Linked DNA regions of Homo sapiens: region 1 is linked to region 2. Evidence: promoter capture Hi-C in human tissues and cell types (Jung and others, 2019). All regions are on one chromosome and are shown on one strand. Each heading gives the region's core, a stretch centred on a gene start or on the middle of the fragment in contact. The rest is flanking DNA. Distances are from core to core; before and after follow the strand shown. Region 1 holds the start of GGA1 (golgi associated, gamma adaptin ear containing, ARF binding protein 1). Region 2 holds the start of KCTD17 (potassium channel tetramerization domain containing 17).

Region 1 (2,700 bases), core at 170-2,669, 560 kb before region 2:
GCCCCAGTGTGTCAGGGCCCAGCCAAACCCAGGTATCTCTAACTTCTGCCTGGTTTTAGACTCTCTGGACTCTCAGAAAACCCCCACTGTTTCTAAACCTGAGAATGTTTTGTATGACCCACAGCTCAAGACCTGTGTCTGAGATCAGTTAGCCAGGGGCCCACCCATCCCCCCAGCCCAGTTGCTGCTGAGACCCAGGCGGACACTTCCGGCGTTCACAACGGTCAAGGGCTGCTGAGTGCCCCTTTTCCACCCCCTGCCCCTCTGGTGGCTAGGATGACTCTGAAACATCCCTAGAGGTTTGGTTCTGGGGCCAACCTCATGGTTCAACTCTGCTCAAGCCTGGCTTAAAAGGGGCCGGCCATGACCCCAAACCACGCTAGACAGTTGCCGGTGTGCCCGGGTCCAAGAGGGTTCCCTGAGGCCCTGGCAACGACGGGGTCCCAACAGCAGTTAAAGCCTTGGGAGAGAACCCTCACTAGACCAGGGAGAAGCCAGCCACGGCTTTCAGAGGCAGAGTCCAGGAGCGGGGCTGTGAGAGCAGGGGATCATCAGGGCTGTGGGTTAAGGAGCTCAGGTGGAGGGTTTGCGGGCTAGGAAGCCTAAGCAATAGGAAGCTACGTCTGAGGAGAAACAAGAAAAAAAGGGGTGTAGAAGCCTTTGAAGGAAGTTCAGCAAGAGCTGGGAAAGGCATCTTGGAGACTGAGGGGTTAGGCTGAAGGGAGTGACAGGGAGCTTGGAATTATTAATACTTCTGGAGTCTAAGACTCTCCCAAGCCTGTAGGGTGCGGGGGTTTCTCACTATGTGGCTAGAGACTAGGAGCGGCGGGAGGAATCAAATGGGGCAGTGGGTCCTCCCTTCCAGGACGGGGTAATGAGCAAATGTGACTACTTGCGGGCTCCAGGAACGCCATGCAGGGCCAGAGAGTGGAGGATTCGGGGCCTGAAAATAGTAGGGTCCCTCCCTCCCGGGTGTGAGATGCAACCCCGGGGAACCGCTCGCGTGCTCCTTCCCCGGGCCGCTACTCCGTGAAGCAATGTGAGCCTTGGGGGTTGGAGGCTGCTCTCTCCGTCCCGGGGGTTCCCGGCGCAGCTCACTCGCCGTCCCAGGGGTCATGGCCCAGGGATCCGACAGGTGGGCGGCGCCCGCTCCCACCGCTGGACCGCGCCGGGGCCGGGGTCCTCCATCGCTCCAGGGTCTGAGGGGCCGACTGAGGACACCGCCCCTCCCGGGCCGGGGGCGGGGCGTGAGGAGGGGGCGACCCGTACCCCGCCCCCGCCGGGAAGGGGCCCGCCTCGTGCCCCCGGTTCCGGTTCCGGTCCGGCCCGCGCCCCTCCCGGACACTCACTGATTCGCGCCTCCAGAGTCTCCGGCTCCATCGCGGGCTCCATCCGCCACCGGCCCCCAGCCTCGGCACCGCCCCCCCGCCCCCCGCAGCTCTCGCGGGACCTCCTGGGCACCGCCCTCTGCCGATTAAAGGGGCAACGTCCGAACGGGCGCGCTCGGCACCATAGAGAGGCCAACGAGCTCGCCTAGAGCGTCACCTACTCGCCCAACCCCACCCCCACGCGGCGTCTACGTCGCAGCTGGGACCGGCCGCCTGCTTTTCCGTTCCCGGCGCTCAGGCGGGAGAGGAAGTGGAGATACTGCAGGCTAAGGGCAGCACCATGGAAACCCCAAGGGACGCTCTAACTCGTTCTGCGTCACGGAGATGTCTGTGACCGCCTCCGGAAGAATTCTCTGCGGGCATGTTGCTGAGGGGCTCTGAGGCCACTTCCGGAGCCCTGAGCGGGTACTTCCGCTTAGAGTCGAACGTGGGAGAGTCCCTTAAAAGGGCGATAAGCTACATCCTCATGTACCTTGGCCGCTGTGAAAATGACGAAAATAAATCAGTTTCTTGAGTGCTTACAGTATTCTGGGCATTGTCCTAAGCACTATTTGTAATTAATCCATTTAGTTCTGACTCCTTACAACAAACCCACCAGATAATTAGTCGGCCTGAGGCCGCACAAGTAGCAGAGCTTGAACCCTGTGCCGTCTCCTCCATTCATCCAGCCAACGTTTAATGAACTCTTTGTATTTGCTTTGCTCTGTGATGGGCACAGAAGGAGATAGACAAGGCCAGATATTTATTACAGTGTGATAGGGGAAGCCCACGGGGTAGTGGGAACAAAGGAGGGGGCTCCTCCCCCAAACTGGGGTGGGGTGGGTGGGGGTGTTGTCAGGGGAGGGGTCGTGTCAGGGGAGGGGTCGTGTCAGGGGAGGTTTCAAGAGAAAGTGATACTGTACTTCGCTCAAAGACAGTCGGATTTCTCCACGTAGAGCTGGTGCGAAAAGATATTCAGGGAGAAAAAGTAGGATGAAGGCCGAGGAGGGCGGATCACGAGGTCAGGAGATCGAAACCATCCTAACACGGTGAAACCCCGTCTCTACTAAAAAAAAAAAAAAAAAAAAATTATCTGGGCGCGCCTTTAGTGCCAGCTACTTAGAAGGCTGAGGCAGAAGAATCGCTTGAACCCGGGAGGTGAAGGTTGCAGTGAGCCGAGATTGCGTCACTGCACTCCAGCCTGGGCGGCATAGCGAGACTCAGTCTCAAAAAAAAAAAAAAAAAAAAAAGTAGGATGAGTCCAGGGAGTTGGAAGTATTTCAATACGGCTCCCAGATATCTGCAAATAGATATCTATTTGCAGGAGATATCT
Region 2 (2,700 bases), core at 11-2,510:
TTCCCTGGATGGAGCAGGCACAAAGTAGCAAAAAGGCACTGGGGTCAGATGGACCTGAGTTCAAGCCCTGCTTCTGACTCTTCCTGAATGTGTGACCTTAGGCTAATGATTTGGCCTCTTTGAAACTCACTCCTCTCCCCCTAATCAGGGTTTGCTGTGAGCATCCGGTGAGAGGATGTCTGAGTGGCAACTGGCCCAGCACAGGGCTCGAAGAATGTCCCTCTGAGAGGCTGTCCCCTGAAGCCAGCCCCACTGTCGCCCCCAGGTCCCTAGGCTTTCAGGGGATGTTTACAAGTTTCCAAAGGAGTCACTATCTCACTGGACACTCGGGCGGGCAGGGAGGCAGGGTGGGCTTCCATGCGACTCTACAGAGAGATCGGAGACATTGAGAGGTGAGGCGACTTGCCAAAGGCCACAGCATCGGAGGGTCACGGATGGGGGACAGGAGACCTTAGAGGTCATCTTCAGACCAGCCCTTCGTGTTACAGATGAGGAAGGAGGCTGAGCGCAGTGCAGGGAAGGGTCCGACTCAAGGTCGCGGCAGGCAGTGTGCAGCAGAGTCAGGGTGGGTGCTCAGAAATAGTGCCCGCTGGGCCAACGCTCCTTCTAGATTCAGCCCGCTCAGAAGGCGCCCCAGGGCTCCTCCATCCAGCTAGCTCCCTGCACCCCTCCGCCACCCACATCCCAAAGAGCGGGAGAAGTAGCCTCGTCGACTCCTTCCCCAGAGCAGGAGTCCCCTTTGGGAGGGAGGAAAGGTCCCAGGTCTCTCCCTGTCCACAGCCCCAAAGGAGAAGGAGAGGCCCCGATCCGGGGCGGCTGGAGAGCTTCTAATGGCCGCGGCCTGCGTCGTCCCGTTGCCACGGCAATGGGTACATCCCTCACTACCAGACCCACCTCCCCCTCCCCTCCTCCTGCCGCTTCTTCCCGCCTCCAGTTCCTCGGAAATGAACCCGGCCGGGTCCCCAGCCTGGCGGGCGAGCCAGGCCCGACAGCCCCGCGTCGGGCGAGCGGAGGACCCACCGCCCGCTCGCCGCCCACCCCGGGGGCCTCACCCGGTCCGACTGCAGCTCTTCCCCCTGGCACAGGCGGCTGAGGAAGGACTTCTGCTCGCGGCACAGCGTCTGCCGGGTGGTCAGGAACACCGTGCCCCCCACGTTGAGCCGCACCCACTTGCCCCAGCCGCCTGCGGCGCGGCCGCCCGCCCCCGCCGGCGGCGCTGCCTCCCCGGCCTCCATCCTCATCGCCGGCCGCGGCGTCTGCATCCTCCTCCCGGGCGCTGGGGGCGGGCGGGGACCGCACGCGGGGCAGGCCGGGAGCTGTAGTCCGCGCCTCCTGGCTCCGCGTGGGCCGCGGGTAGGGTCCCGCCCCGCGCTGCTCCCGCCCCCGGTCCCGCCCCGCTTCGCCCTTCCCCGCAGGCCCGCAGTCTGGGGTGGTGAAGATGCCCTCTGGCCAAATCACTGTGTATGGGGAAGGTCGAACTCCCGGCCTCTGGGAAAAGAATGAGGGCTTCCCCAAATCTGCAGTCATCCCATGGGTCCGAGCATTCTTGTTTTTCCTTTGTGCCGTCTCCGTCGTCCAACAGCTGATAAGGGAAGAAACTTTCCCCTCCAGGAATCCCCATAGCATTGACCCGCATGTGTTTCGTCATATTTTTTCATTTGCCCTTTGTGTGTATAGGGGTGGGGGCGGGGTGGGTGGGAGTGGGTTCTTTCCCTCACCTGAGTTCTTGGAGAACGACATAGCTGGACTTGAGGTTGGCTGAGCACCTGTATGCCAGACACTTTGTGTATATGTGTTATGAATTTAAGCTCTCAGCAGCCCTGTGAGTCTGGTATTTTGGGCTATACCCATTTTACAGATGAAGCCACAGAAGCGAAGTGACCGCCCTACTCACATTGCTGGTGAGTGAGTACCCACCAAGGTCTCTTTCCTGCTCCCTGACCATGGAATGTCAGGGATCCTTGGGAAAGACTTCTAAGGAGGAAGAGTAGAGCACGCCCTGGATCCGAGTCAGGAGAACTGAGTTTCCATTCTGGCTTTTGGCCTTTCTCAGTTTTTCCACGTCCTCCCTAAGAAGGAGGAGGGATTGGTTCTGCGGGTGGCTTTCTGAGTTATTCCCCAGTTAACTCGGAGGGGAACCGTCATTCTGTGGACCTCAGGATGGGGGAAGGGAGCAGTTCCTCATGTGGTCCGGGACCAGGGAGGGACAAGGGCTGACGAGGAAGCTGTCTCCTTAGCTTCCTCTCCTTACTGGTTTCAGTCCTGGTCCTGGCCTATGGGGGAGAGGTCTGGGGCTCCTCTCACTGATCCAATGTCACACGCAGCTGGCCCGAACACTGGGCAGCCTGGCCCTGTGCTGGGAGAAGTTTCCCTGTTACCACCCAATGCCCTGCTTTCTGCATAAAGCTTTTCTCCTTGGCAGGGAGTGGATCAAAGGTGTACTGGAATCCTGCTACTTAAAATTCACTAGGTGTGTCCTGAGCAACTTCCTCTCTGAGATTGGCTTTCTCTCTTGCCAAATGGGATTTACAACAGTTGTGACCCCAGAGCATTGCTGTGAAGATTAAGTTATGAAATGTCTATAAACATCTAGCGTAGGCTGGGTGCGGTGGCTCACACCTGTAATCCCAGCACTTTGGGAGGCCAAGGCTCGCTTGAGCATAGAAGTTCAAGACCAGCCTGGACAGCATAGTGAGACCC

What was found. Contacts are between HindIII fragments. The study calls those that stand out against the background at their distance.
Region 1: a contact is called between the fragment with the promoter of GGA1 here and the fragment with the promoter of KCTD17 in region 2, in 1 of the 25 tissues and cell types used here (dorsolateral prefrontal cortex).

What each region holds. Positions count from the first base shown.
Region 1 is chr22:37,607,553-37,610,252 of GRCh38, reverse strand. It overlaps GGA1 (golgi associated, gamma adaptin ear containing, ARF binding protein 1), which reads right to left and starts at 1,419. Exons shown (of 17, transcript NM_013365.5): 1 at 1,350-1,419. The coding sequence starts at 1,392. RefSeq lists enhancers at 590-699, 414-1,035, 1,640-1,809, 1,960-2,039 and a silencer at 1,030-1,479. The HindIII fragment of the contact is 29,756 bases long and covers 1-2,700 here.
Region 2 is chr22:37,050,302-37,053,001 of GRCh38, reverse strand. It overlaps KCTD17 (potassium channel tetramerization domain containing 17), which reads right to left and starts at 1,260. Exons shown (of 9, transcript NM_001282684.2): 1 at 1,053-1,260. The coding sequence starts at 1,241. RefSeq lists enhancers at 1-374, 375-1,092 and silencers at 1,029-1,148, 1,159-1,468. The HindIII fragment of the contact is 12,846 bases long and covers 1-2,700 here.